Regions from separate parts of the Homo sapiens genome. Here region 2 is linked to region 1. Evidence: promoter capture Hi-C in 16 types of primary human blood cells and fetal thymus (Javierre and others, 2016). All regions are on one chromosome and are shown on one strand. Each heading gives the region's core, a stretch centred on a gene start or on the middle of the fragment in contact. The rest is flanking DNA. Distances are from core to core; before and after follow the strand shown. Region 1 holds the start of TESHL (testicular germ cell expressed HSF2 interacting lncRNA). Region 2 overlaps DIRC3 (disrupted in renal carcinoma 3).

The links. Contacts are between HindIII fragments. The CHiCAGO score rates a contact against its expected background, and 5 or more counts as called.
Region 2: a fragment that was not itself captured here is called in contact with the fragment with the promoter of TESHL in region 1 in 5 of 17 cell types (M2 macrophages, M0 macrophages, endothelial precursors and 2 more); the score reaches 8.2 in M2 macrophages.

The regions. Positions count from the first base shown.
Region 1 is chr2:216,866,903-216,873,759 of GRCh38, reverse strand. It overlaps TESHL (testicular germ cell expressed HSF2 interacting lncRNA), which reads right to left and starts at 2,988. Exons shown (of 2, transcript NR_130782.1): 1 at 2,780-2,988; 2 at 2,121-2,304. LOC105373876 (a long non-coding RNA gene) reads left to right here and starts at 5,951. Exons shown (of 2, transcript NR_135525.1): 1 at 5,951-6,179. The HindIII fragment of the contact is 5,034 bases long and covers 1-3,855 here.
Region 2 is chr2:217,696,222-217,703,078 of GRCh38, reverse strand. All of the region lies in intron 2 of DIRC3 (disrupted in renal carcinoma 3), which reads left to right. It also overlaps the pseudogene LOC100533848. Among named protein-coding and RNA genes, the nearest start is that of DIRC3, 91 kb to the left of the region's middle. The HindIII fragment of the contact is 3,270 bases long and covers 2,166-5,435 here.

The DNA of each region.
Region 1 (6,857 bases), core at 1,739-4,238:
AAGGCCCTGAGTAGAAGGAACAAGGTACCACAAAGGGTGAATGAACCTCTTAGGAAAAGGAAGCATAATGCTGACACTTAGATGAGACCCAAAGAAGGAGGATTTAACCTCCCAGGGGCTGGAGGAATATGAGGGTAGATAGAACCCTGCCGGCCAGCTCTACCTACCTCTTCCTTTGTGTGACTTTTTTGAAGGTATAATAGCACCACTCTGACTTGGGTCTTAACTCAAGCACATCCTAAGCTGTATGATCTTAAGCAGGTTAATCATTCCACCTGTTTCAATTATGAAATCAGGACCCTGATTACCTCGATGCTGCAACTGAGATAAATGAAATGATGATTCCACAATCTGTAGTGCAGGGCCTGACAAACTGCAGTCTGCAGGCCAAATCCAGCAAAGTTAACAAGCCAGAGCTATTCACTTACTATGGCTGCTTTCACCTGCAAAGAATAAAACATCTGCTATCTGGCCCTATAACTCTGTAGGGGCTCTCTCAAGTGGCCCTATCACCTCGCATAACTCACAAAAGCTGCTGTAAGTTATAACTTGGGTCATGGTTACTTACCTCATACAAGACTTTCATCAATAAATATTGAACGCCCTAGACAGAAGATTCAAATATTTCACATCCTGAAGTTCTCCACAATTATCAATTTCAAAATTTTCTTCTAAGTTTCAAGTTTGAACATGTGATGGATCTCCTGGCACTGTTAAATTTATTCTGGTTTTCTCCTGGACTATATGTCTTAGACTATATTTACTATATGTACATTTCTTGGAGTACATGGACATGTGAACAGGACCTGGCACATGGGCATTTATTCAATAGTAAAACATTTCCTATGTAAATGTAGCAAATATAGTGAGGGTGTCATGGAGGACAGCACCAGAATGACACAGGGAAGGCTATTGACCTCTTTGCCTTTGCCTTCTCCCTGAGATTATGCCAGTGTATGCACAACATTATTACAGCCTACTACTGCCAGACACACTTATAACCCATTAACTGTAGCCTGTTACTACCAGAGGTGCCTGTAACCCGTTACCACGGCCTACTACCATAATACATGCTTATATCCAATGATATAGCTATATTACTACAGCCTGCTACCACAAGAGCGACTTGTATTATTACTACATACACTACCTCAGGACACTCTGCTCTTGCGCCCAGGAACACCTGCTATAACATCTTTAAGCAATAAATTGCCACCTCTCCACACCCCTACACTGAGTAAGGCCAAATGTGACCACTGAAGAGCAAAAGCAATCATCAAAGAAACCCAAGAAGCTCATCAACATCTAGGAAATAGGACAAAACCCTGGGGCCCACCTAAGTCAGATGAACAATAAAAAGGCAGTTTCTGCATCTTTCATGTTCCAAAGGAAATAGAGAATTGAGTTTTGAGGCCCCAACCTTACAGATTAGCTTTGGTCTTGCTGGTAAATGGTTTTTAAAGATTGCATTTATGATTCTCAGGGGGAGGCAAGCTGTGAGTAAGAGATGATTTGGTACCTTTACATAAGTTATACAAGGTTCAAGTTTAATTACACAAGGGATTCTATAAAGCTGTAAGAATTATTTGATCCCAAATTGCCCAAACACTACGTTATATCTAGAGTATACTACCAGGAGAAGCTCGAGGATGTTGTCCTTTAAAGAATTCCAAATGCACATATGCCTTTGTAAGTGTACGTTGTGTCTTTGCACTTCCTCACATTTACAATTCCTGGACTTCATGATGGATGACCTGGGCTTGTTTCTAGGAAAACAAGCATCTTCATTTCTGCTAACAAATGAATGAGAAGTGTGAGCTGATGGTGATCTGGTGGTTCACCTGGCTCAGCCTGCACTGGCCTTGTTTAGACGGTCTATCAAACCAAATAAGCCCTTATCATATCCAGAAAGCATCTCAATTTATCCCAAACAAAAGCCCAACCATGAACATCATAGTAAATCTTTCAAACAGGAAAAAAAGGGTAAACTACATATTTCCTCCTGACTCACATGGTTCTCCCTCTGCTTACAACACCCATCTGATTACATGAAGGGCTAGGGTACTAAGGTCACTCAACGTCACTCTTCAGCTAAACAGTAACACTCAAAAACACCTTTGTCAGAGAAAGAAGAGAAAGTTTATTTAGAGACACTGGCGTGGAGAGGAATAATCAATGATGATTATGGTGGTCTTGGGCCTGCACCAAAAGCCCTTCTTTGTGCTGGCCCTGGGAGAACACATGGCACAGAAAAGCCCAGATTCAAGCAGCTTCTTCAACCAAAACATTGACATATTCTGCTGACTAAAGAGACAAATAAGAAAATTAAAGATGTACACTCCAAGAACCCACGTGTTTTTCATATAGGGACCTTCCCAACTCAGTTTCCCAGAGATTCCATCAAATACAGACCTTCAAAGAGTTTGAGAGTACCACCTCAAAGAGGTAGGTCCAGGGTTTGTGTGATCTCTCTTTACTGCATGGACAAGATTAGAGGGAGGCTCTACAGCACAAAGAAGACAAGCCATGAGCACAGAAAGCCTGGCTCTTCACAGGACTTGTGGGGAAGCAGGGAGAGAGTTGGGTGGTTGTTTTTTATTGGTGGGTGGGTGTCGGTGAGGGAAGGGATTGTTAGAGAAGTACTGGGGCCAGTCTTTAGAAGGTGAGAGGTGATCTTTGCTTTTGCCAGAGGCATGACAGTTTGGGAGATTGGCCAAGCATGGGTGACAATTCCTCAGTCCTGAGAGTCTCCTCTGTAATCAGAAAATGTCATCAATACCTTGTCCTCCCATTCCTTTTCAGAGATAATTTCCTTTCTTTTTGCCTCTGTGGGGAATATTTCAGATGACATGCTGAACACCTATACCTGCAGGCCTTCACCATCTTCTTCTGTTCCTCAACTCTGGTCAGCATGAGGTTTTGGTTGAAACAGCAAGATCTGCCTGCTCCTACTGTTGTCCCTCTCTCCTACCGCAGGTCCATTTGTCCAAAGCAGTCCACCCATCATTCCCTTTATATAGTGGCTTATGACACGGGCCCTCCTGGTAAAGGGACATGATGATTGATGGTGCCTTGTCACAATGGCTGAAAGTCAACATGAGAGCTTGGTTGAGTGGTTGGGGCAGTACTGAAATGTTGGATAAAATTAAGAAAATGCCTAGTAGGACTCCTTAAATCAGCTGGCTGCCTATCAGCCAGCCCATAGGAACCCCCAAGAATTACAGAAACCAAGCAAAATTCTCTATGCCTTTCAAACCCAAGTCTAGCTTTTTTTTTTTTTTAAAGAATAACCATTTATTAAAGTAGATACAGAACACTTGTTTGGCCAAATTTTAATACTGCTTTACATGTTTTGTTTGTGAAACAATTCGTATTACATTTATAACCAAAAATTTCAACTGGTAACATATTTAATATTCACTGTCAAACACACAGTTGATAATCTTGAGGGGAAAATACATGAAAGGCATATATACAATTATAGAAGCTCTTATTGTACATGTAGCATATTTTGATCTCCAAGTCTAGCATTTTTAAAGCCTTTGTCTGCTGACACATTTAGGCATACATTCCTGGTTTCATTGCCTTACTTCTAGAAAGAGATCTTGAGGGAGGATTTGAACAATGTACACTTTTTAAGTGAATTTATTGAAGTATAATTGATAAACAATAACCTGCACATATTTTAAGTGTACAATTTGATAAGTTTTGACCTAGGTATACACCCATAAACCATTACTACAAATCAAGATAAAAAGTACAATTAAAGCTCTAGTCCAGTTCATTTTTTAAATCTACTACCCCTGCCCTATCCCCTAGAGCCCCACAGAAATATAGCTTCAACTTCAAGAAGCTTGATATCTGGCCAGAGAAGCCATCTTCTACTGGTAGATATAAAATGTGACCAAATGAAGAAGTAACCATAGAGTATAGGGCCTTTGTTTTGAGTCTTGAAGCACATTTGGAAGTTTAATAGGTGAAGATGAAAAAAATAGTACAAATCACTGAATTTCCTATGAAGACCTGTACTTTTTCTACTTTTTAAATAACCCAGTTTGGTTAGAACAGAGGTTGCCTGAAGGAAATAATGAAGGACATGGCTAAAAAGCCAGGTTGGGGTTGGGGATGGGGATATGGAAATTGAAATGCTGTAGTCAAAATGTCTACATCTTGTTTCACTGGGCAGCAGTTTGCATGAAAAAAGAGACTCCAGCCACCTCCACAGTGATGTAGTCCAAAGGCTGATGAAGGGCTGCCACCTGGCATCATGGAAACATGGGCCTCATAAAGGGGGAAGAGCCCAACAACACACCTGGGCTTCAGGCCTAAGTAATGAAGCTCTGGGTGGTGCCAACCAGAAGGGTCAGGTTGGCAGGAAGGTCCCAAGAAATGTCGTCTCCTCTCTTCCTTAAAAGCCTGGTTTCAAACACACTTCCTGAACAAGGGCTGTAGTGATTCACCCACTTCAAGAAGGCCAACTTCATGTTGAGGCCATAGTGGGTGGAGGGGTGGAGGTGATCATCCAAGCATCCCCCAGTGTCCCTCTAATATCCCACCTCTTGCAGATGCCCAAGAGGCAGAGAATGCTACAGTTCTCTTGTCATTCTTTTAACATAAGACCTAAGGTTTTAATCCTGGGTAGGGCAACAAAGGCAGGAAAGAAGAGAAAGAAAGAGAAGGAGGTGGAGTTGTATTCAAACTACATATGTGATGCTGAGCTTAATGTATTCTAACTCTTCTCTGATTGTCAGGTGCTCTGCAGGAGTCACCTAAGGTAAGGACAGAGAAATGAGATGAGGTTCCCTCAAGCGGTCACACAGTGCCTGGCGCTTAGTAGGTCCCCTAAAAGTGCTCTGACCACCTCAAGTGTCGCAGCTTCCAGTTTTGCATGCCTTACTTTCAACCCCATTCTTTCCTGAGTTTTCTTCTGTTCTCTCGGTCTCCTTGCCCTGCTCTCTCCTCTGAAACACCCAATGGCTGATAAATCCCATAACTTTGTCTCTAGAGCATCTTACCTGCCCCTGGAGATTCAACCACACAAAACTCTACCTTGCCAGTGCCCAAAACTACATCCCCAGCCTCAATTGCTCTTCTGAGCTACAGATGCCTCTATCCAATTTGTCTACAGGGCATCCTTGGGGACCTCTCTGGTAGACATTCAACCTATGCAAAACTAAAACCAGTTTTTTTCTGTTCACATCTATTTCCTGCTCCTGCATCTACTCAGCAGTCATTCACTATTCACTTAGGACAGAAGACTAGGATTAAAACTTTACCCCTCCACATAAATCACGTCAGTATTTTATAACTTATCCCTTCTTCAACTCCATTGCTGGCTTGGGTTAAATGGCTTAATATCACTAAAGAACTTACCATATTGCAGGCACTTTCCTGCAATAGATAACAAGTTAGAATTCAAGTCTTTTGTTGATAGCTGTCTTTATGGTGAACATTAAGTCAAAGATATCACCCTCTGGGTAACTGACCGTCTTCCTCTGCATCCCTTCTGTGGCAGCAGTTAGAGCATACGCACTAAAATTAAGTAGATGTGGATCTAAATCCCAGCTCTACTGTTTAGTATTTGCACATCCTTGAGCTATTTCCTGAAGCTCTGAGCCAGTAAGGAGGTGATCTCCAACTAGGTGTTTAGTCTCCTCATTGGTAAGATAACAGGATTGCCATTAAGCCTGAGTCCTCTCTTTAACTTATTGAAGATTTTTAAGGCTGGGAGCAATATAATGATTTGCCCACATTTGGTAAGTTGAGAAACTTGGATCCAGAAAATCAGTCTGACTAAATATTGGAGAAAATCATCTCAGGTCCCCTGCTCAGCCCTTCTCTTGTAGATTGGTTCACTGACCTCATATGGCCTTTGTGATATCCCAGAGAGGGGAAGACCAAGTCACAGTGGCCTAGATTCTCTGCAGCTGGGCTCCTTCTGTCTCAGAGCTGGGAATACAATCTTCAGGCAAATGACTGGAAAGCCTCCTTCAGGCCCCTAACATCTCCCAGCAGTAAGTATGAGCACTAAGTGTGTGCATTCAGCCACACTAGGATACAGCAGAGCTGCATGTACCCCAGGACTCAGCCAGTTTCCTACGGGAGCATAGAAGAAAGTACCACTAAAGGAGAGCAAGGAGAAGGAAGAGGAAGAGGGCAGTGATTGGCAAGGCTTGAGGGTAAGAGTAGGAGGAGTGAAGACAGGAGTAGTACCAGCTACGGATGGAGGATGTATGTGAGGAGGGGAGAGGGGAGATGGTCATGGAGCCAGTAATGAAGAGACTAAGTCCATTCTCAGGCAAATGGCACAGCCTCAGTATGAAGTAAGTCATTTGCAAGTATTCATGAATCTCCCATTATGAATAGGAGATCTGACCAGCTTTCCTGGATTATAAAGGTAAACAAGATAGGGATTTTTCAATTTAGTTATCTGGTATTTGCCATAAGTAGTGTCTTAAGTGAGGCAGGAGAGACAGAGTGGGCTTCATAGTCACGGGACCTGTGCATCACAAACGGTCTTGTGCCCACTTACCCACACTGATTCCAGATTTATGCTCTTCTGTCACCATCTTGAAATTCTTAATAATTTTTTAGCAAGAGGCTAGCATATTCATTTTGCATTGGACTTCACAAATTATGTAGCTGGTTCTGGGGAGACATAATTTTTTTTATCTGGAGCATGTGGAGTCCTAATAAGCAACAACAAGGAAAGGGCGCAAGATGGGGGGAGGGCCGGCCCCAAGTTGGAGGAGAACAGTAAACAATTGTTCTGAGAAATGGCTAAACACAAAAAACCTGTGGGCATAATGACCTCCTTCCCCAGATAGACCCAGCAGCACAACCTCATTCTGCACATA
Region 2 (6,857 bases), core at 2,551-5,050, 830 kb before region 1:
GAAAAATGGGAGGTGGGAAATTAGCTGTGCTTGTTTAGAGAACTGTTTACAGACACTTCTTAAGGTGAGAGCATACTCATTTCGTTTTTTCCATTTTCTCAGAGATGATGAAGTCCTGGTCTAGAGAAATCTCTTTAAAAACAAAATCCATGGGTATTAACGGTTATTGATTTATCTGGCAAAGACTGGTTAATAGGGCTCAGTCCTATCTGCCCACTATCTCTGGGTTTTAAGAGTAAATCATCTTAGAACTGCTCAGTTACCTTTCTACTCAGTGCTGTTGGTACTAGTGTCCTCAAAGAGTTTAGGGTAAGTCTTTACCTAGAGTCCCAAAATAGCAGAGAGGAGTTGAGGTGCCCTGGGAGACAGACATGTGAATCCTTTAGCTAGAAATGTGTTCTAGGCCCAGAGCTCAGAGACGACATTGGGAATGGTTCCAGGTCTGGAATCTCAGACTGGCTTCACCATGCAGTACCAATCTTCTCCATGCTGCTGCTGGGTCACTTCCCCTGGGTCACCATGGCAGACGCTCCCCTACCTGGCTCTGCCTGTCACTTTTCTCACCCTAACCTGGACTCTGGATCCTGGCCTCAGCTCTATGTCTAGTGCTACTTCCCAGCACTATCCAGAGATGATCAAAGTCTCTTGTAATAGTAGTAGTAGTAGTAGTAGTAGTAGTAGTAGTAGTAGTAGTGAGCAAGAGGACAGTAAAAGCAAAAATAATGCTTCCCAGAGGTTGTATACTCTATGTAAGGTGCTTTACTTCTATGAATTCTAATCCTTTACAGGGAAGGCCCACTTTCCCAAGATTCAAAGAGGTTAAGTGACTTGCTCAGAGTCACACAGCTAGTAACACAGTCAGAATCCAAATTCAGACCTGTCAGCCTCCAGAACCCAGCACAATGGGGACAGAGTCTAAACCGTCTTCCTGGTCCTGATCACCTGCTTCACTGCTCAGTTATTTCTATTCTTGGGGTGCTCTGCAGTATTCCAGGGGCTGGGTGCTCTTATCCCAAGATGGAGAAGCTAGAGCAGAGAGCATTAGAGCAAACTATTTACAGCCCTGTACAGGTCAACAGTATGTGGGTGGGTCATTAATTTACTACCTCTTTGCAAAAACCGTTAAGAGATCCAATGGACTGCATAAAAAATATCAACTCACTGAAACACATCAGTCAAACTGACAAAGACGTCAAACACCGAGATGCACATTTGTCTAGTGAGCCAAGTGGTGAGAAATGTGGGAGGGTGGGGTCTACACTGCCAGCTAGGGTGACGTTCATATTCACAGCATCAGAGAAAACAGATTCGAAAGAGATCTGGAAGGCCAAACTGTCTGGTCCTTTATCACATCCCTGACTTGCAGTTGCCCAGCCCCTCCTAGGACAACCACAGGGACAGGAAAATCACTATTTCCAGAGGCTTCAAAATTCCATCTCTGGACATTTCTGACTTCCTGGGTGCTGGAGCAATAGAAATAGAACTTCAGCACTCTCAGATGGAGATCCTGTGAATGCCAGTGAGGCCACTGTAATAGACACAGTGGGAATGCCAAATGGGCCAGCCACTTTGGAAAATAGTTTGGCAGTTTCTTATAAAGTTAAATATATACTTACCATATGGTCCAGCAGTCCCATTCCTAGGTATTTACCCAGTGACAACATATTTCCATATTAAAACCTGTATACAAATACCTTTATAATCATTAAAAATTGGAAACAATCCAAATGTCCATCAGCTGGGGAATTCACAAACAGTGGTATGTCTATACTGTGGAATAATACTAGTACAGCAAGAAAAAGAACATGCTACTGACATATGCATTAGTGTAGATAAATCTCACATGCCTTATCAAAGCAAAAGAAACCAGACTCAGGTCAAAAGGCTATATAGGTTTTGATTTAATTTATATGACATTCTGGAAGAAATGACAAATGTGTACATGTGTGAGTGTGTATATGTATGTGTATATATATGTGTGTGTGTGTGTGTATACACATACATTTTTGTAAATATATACATATACTTACAAAGAAACTTGGTGGTAGCCAGGGGCTGGGAATGAAGGGAGCTTTTGAATACAAGGAGGTATGAATGGATGTTTTTGGGGTGATGGAAATGTTCTGTATCTTGATTGTAGGAGTTATTTTACAACTGTACAAGCTTGTGAGAATTAGTAAATTGTATCTCTAAAAGGGTACATTTTACTGTATGAAATTATTCCTTGGTAATTATGACCTTAGAAAAATATTAAAAATACGCAGACACAAAACTTGATAGTTTGGTGACTGTATTAGTCCATTTTCACCCTGCTATGAAGAAACATCCGAGACTGGGTAATTTATAAAGAAAAGAGGTTAAATTGGCTCGCAGTTCTGCATGGCTGGGGAGGCCTCAGGAAAGTTACAATCATGGTGGAAGGCACCTCTTCACAGGTGGCAGGAGAGAGAATGAGAGTAAGCAGGGGAAATATTAGATGCTTATAAAACCATCAGATCTCGTGGGACTCACTCATTATCACAAGAAAAGCATGGGGGAAACTGCCCTCATGATTCAGTTACCTCCACCTGGTCCTGCCCTTGACACATGGGGATTATGGGAATTACAATTCAAGGTGAGATCTGAGTGGGGACATAGTGAAACCATATCAGTGACCTTCCTCTGTGTGGCTTCAGGATTTTGGTCCTTGTGATAATGATGGTTATGAGAGGACTCTCCCCACTTCCTCTGTGAAAATCCATAAGGGCTACCTCACATGGATGTCTGAATCTGCCAAGCCACTGCTGGAGCTGGGGCCACTACTGTCTTCTGGGCCAGTAGTTCTGATGTCCCAGTGGCTGGGTCCCAGGCTCTGTCTATGAACTTGCACTTGTTCTGTATCTTGTGCCAGGGCCTTTCTGCCCTAGACAACTGACATACTCCCTGTTGCTCCAAGCTACTTGATGATAATTTTTTCCAGCCAGGATAGAAATGGTTTCCTTTTCCTGTTAGGCTACTCTTCTGTGGTTCTCTCTGAGGAATTGCTTGAGTCCTTAGCTATCATGGCTATTTTAATGTATACACAAGACCTGTTCCTTTCAATGGGATGCTCATGCCATTAGGGTCCCTGGGACTGGAGTGGATTAAAGCAAGTCCACCACCTTGCTTCTCCCAGAACTTCCACTCTCAGCCTTGATGCCTAGGTCTGGGGCTGTGTCCCGCAATCCAGTATTTTCCTGCCTCCATTACAGATTCTCCTTTTCTGCTGCCCTTGAAATAGAGCTTCTCTTAACATGTTCTATCTACACACTTCAAATTAATCATGCTTATTTCTGTGTCTGAACCCCAAGTTTGGCCATGGATCAAGTTATTTCTCCAGGACATTCTAATACCCCGTGCAAATCAATGCTATGAATCGATATTGAGGAGACCAAAGCTGAGATAATACCTAACTTCAGGTGTTCAGAATAGCTCAATTCTAGTTTTGGTTTAAAAGCCTTTTTTACACAATGACTATGTTTTTGCCTTCTAGCAGCCCCTATCGTTTTCATTCTTCTCTTCTGACATAGTGCTGGGTAAATTTAATACATCTTTTACATGACAGGTCTCTTTGAAGACAATAATCGTGTTTTTCTGGAATGTTCTATTTAGGATACCTTAGCAAGAATGCTTGTCTGCTGGAGAGACCACATCTGGAGTTCTGAATTGAGATGCAGATCCTGTGTATAAGAAGGACATAGGAAGAGCTGTATGTCAGAGGAGGAGAAGCAGAGACTCCCACACCACGTTGTGGGAAGAACCTGCTTCGTGCTCAGGGGTCTTCCTTCTCTTTCTAGGCAGAAATGTCTAAAGAAACAGCCTAGCATTGCCGTGTCACCACTGAGCAAGAGACCCCCTTCTCATTAAGGAATTTGGAGTGAAATGACACAGCGCATGAAAAAGTTCTCTGTGGAGTTATCAGCATTTTTTCAAATAAATTATTTATATTTTTTGGCACTAAAATAGATTTAGCATGTCCTAGGGGTATTGATTGGCTTGGGCTGGATTCTGTGTGGAGGCGCAGAGGGAGGAAAAGTCCTGGTTTTAATGGAAGAAACATCCCAGGCACATGGGGGGAAAACCCAAAAACAAAAACAGAGAAGCATGATGTACCCAGCCCTCCTCAAAGCACTTGGGAGTTGGCACTGTGCACAGTTCTGGTGCTCAATCAAGGTTGAAACATAACCCAAACATTGGCGAGCCCATGGGCCAACTCCCTACATTTCTGGAATGGTCTTGCTGAGAACAAGAAATCCACTGCATCCACCAGAATTCTCTTTATTATTTCCCACCCAGGCTGCCTCTTCTATCTTGTACCGGACAGGACCCATTCCATTCTGAGTGCAGCTCTGTGGTCTGAGCACAGATGGAGGCCCGCTTCCCTCCCTCTCCAGAACTTTTTTAGGGAGGGTCCTGTATTTATTTTGAAGAAAGATTTTGAGTCACTATGGGGGAGGGTGACACACAAGGGCATGCTCAGCTGAAGGCTGTGATAAAAGATGCCCTCAGAACTGCTATGTGTAGGATAAGTAGGGAAATTTGTGTTGCTTCTGAGAAAGGGGAGTAAGGAGAGGAAAAAAGAGAAAGAAGTGAAGGGCAGCCAAGAGGTAGAAGAGACTGGCAGGGTTGGGGGGGGGTGATCCTGTCTCCTGAAAGGCTTAATATAAGTTATTAAAAATAACCGAATGGTTTGTGGGCATGGCCATGGGGTAGATGTGCCAGAGAAGGGGCTGTGTGTTGTACCTGCAATAGAATGAGAGAGGCCAGAGCCTGTGGCTGGGCTGCAGGAACTGCGAGAGAAGGTCTGAGCATGAATTATACTTGTTTCCTTGTTTATTTCTCCTATTGAACTTGAACTCCTTCCTTGGTGGGCTCTATCTTACTTGTCTTGTGTATTTTCAGTGGCAGCATACTGCGTAAAACAGAGAAGGCCCTCGATCAACACTGTTCAAAGGAAAGAAAGACAGAAGGATAGGCCTTTGCAGTAGAATCTTTTAATTTTGCAGGTAATAAAGGATGAAAGATAATTGAGAATGCCTCAGAAACAGCAAAGTCCCAATATTGATTTCTTGTAGTCTACAGATTCATTCAAAGGAAAATGAAATCAATTAAACTTTTCTTTAAATCTTGTCTTCCTTATCTTTGCAAGTCTAGTCCAGATGGATTGGTCTAGCGCAGATGCACCTGCCCCATGAAGCCTTTTCTATGCTCCTAATTGGGCATCATGGTACATGATCTAGAATGATGGAAAATTAGAACTGAGAAGATACATTAGAAGTCATTTAGAGATATTCTGATCCCTGAACCTTAACATTAACCATAACTCTGACATTTAAGGGACCTTAAATGTCACTTAACATTTTGTGTCTTTAGGGTTTGTTTGTTTTATAAAATGTCTTTTACTTTAAAATGAAGCTTCCCTGGGCCTGTCAACATAGACGTGTGTTCCACACACATGAAACATGATCAGTATAAAATCCGTGCTAAAAATATTTTACAATAAATAAATATTACGATTTCAAACCACAGTGGCTTCCTGGTAAATCAAAGATCCTTTTGTTTAGTGGAACACCTTGAGTTAGGATACTCAAAGTAGACTTGGAGCTCAGTCTTGGAACAAGAGTTGGAGAAAGCCAAGTTGGAATTCTACTGGTAGGTGTGAAGGGCAATATGGGAGGGAGAAGAAAAGAGAAGATGGGAGGAGGAAATGCAAGAAAAGACTGGTGAGTTGGCAATAGGTTAGGGTGAGGGGTGATGTGGCCAGGGAAATTGTGCCAGAGCAATATCTGAGAGTCAAAGTGGAGGTTGTCTATGTTCTTATGATGTGACCCTGCCCCTACTTTCATTTCCTGCAAACTTTGAGCTGAATTTTTCAGCAAAGTAACCAATTTCCACAGGAATTCATAGAAATCTTGGGGAAGGAATTGTACCTTCAATAGCATGTAGAATGGAGGTTTGAGGAATCCTATCTAGACCTTCAGGTGTAGGAGGACCCCAGAAGATAACTGGGTTATGCAAGGCTATTTAGTATCATGGACTCTTATGAATGCATGAACATCATCACTTGAAATTCACATATTTTAAAACAGGAGATGGAGATCGACATAAAAGTTATAAATAGTCAAACCTCAGCTATAAAGTACAAAATGTCAATTGAGTACCTTTCATACAGTTTTTGTCTTCCCCTGGAATGAATTTTGATGATGTCCTTATTTGCACAAGAGATCTTGTAGCTAGCGACCAGATGAAAATCTTTATCAATGTGAATTTGGGGAACTTGGGAAAAAAGATGGTCTTAGTGGTATATTATCCCAACAGCTTCCACAGTAAAGCCTGATGAAAAGTTTTCATATCATTATACACCCAAATAAGAATGTCATGTGGCATTTCTACAAACCAATTTTGAGCATAGTGAAATTCAGGGCTTTGACACTCCCAGTGGGAGAGTATTAATGCTATGATAACCTGTAAGTCAATCTCTACCTCGATGGCTTTATTTCTGAAAAGACCTTGCTGGAAGATGAGATTGCTTGAGTTTTTCTGATGCCCTATTAGACTATTTGCTGGATCAGAATGCCACTGAGGGTGGCTGCGTAGTCTGTCCTTTTTTGGTATCTCCTCTGGCATCTTGCCCATTCTTGTCCATACTGTCTTCCTAGTCATTCATGCTGTTCTTTTCCCATTTGACCCAGAGGTCAATGAGAGCACTGGGTCTAAACTCTTCCTGGGCATAAATGGTGAGATACACAACAGAAGCTCCCAGGCCTCATGTGAAGCCAATGTGAAAGGAGAGTACATGGCAAGTGGCTTGTTCACCAGTCTGTCCTTCTTGTGGCACA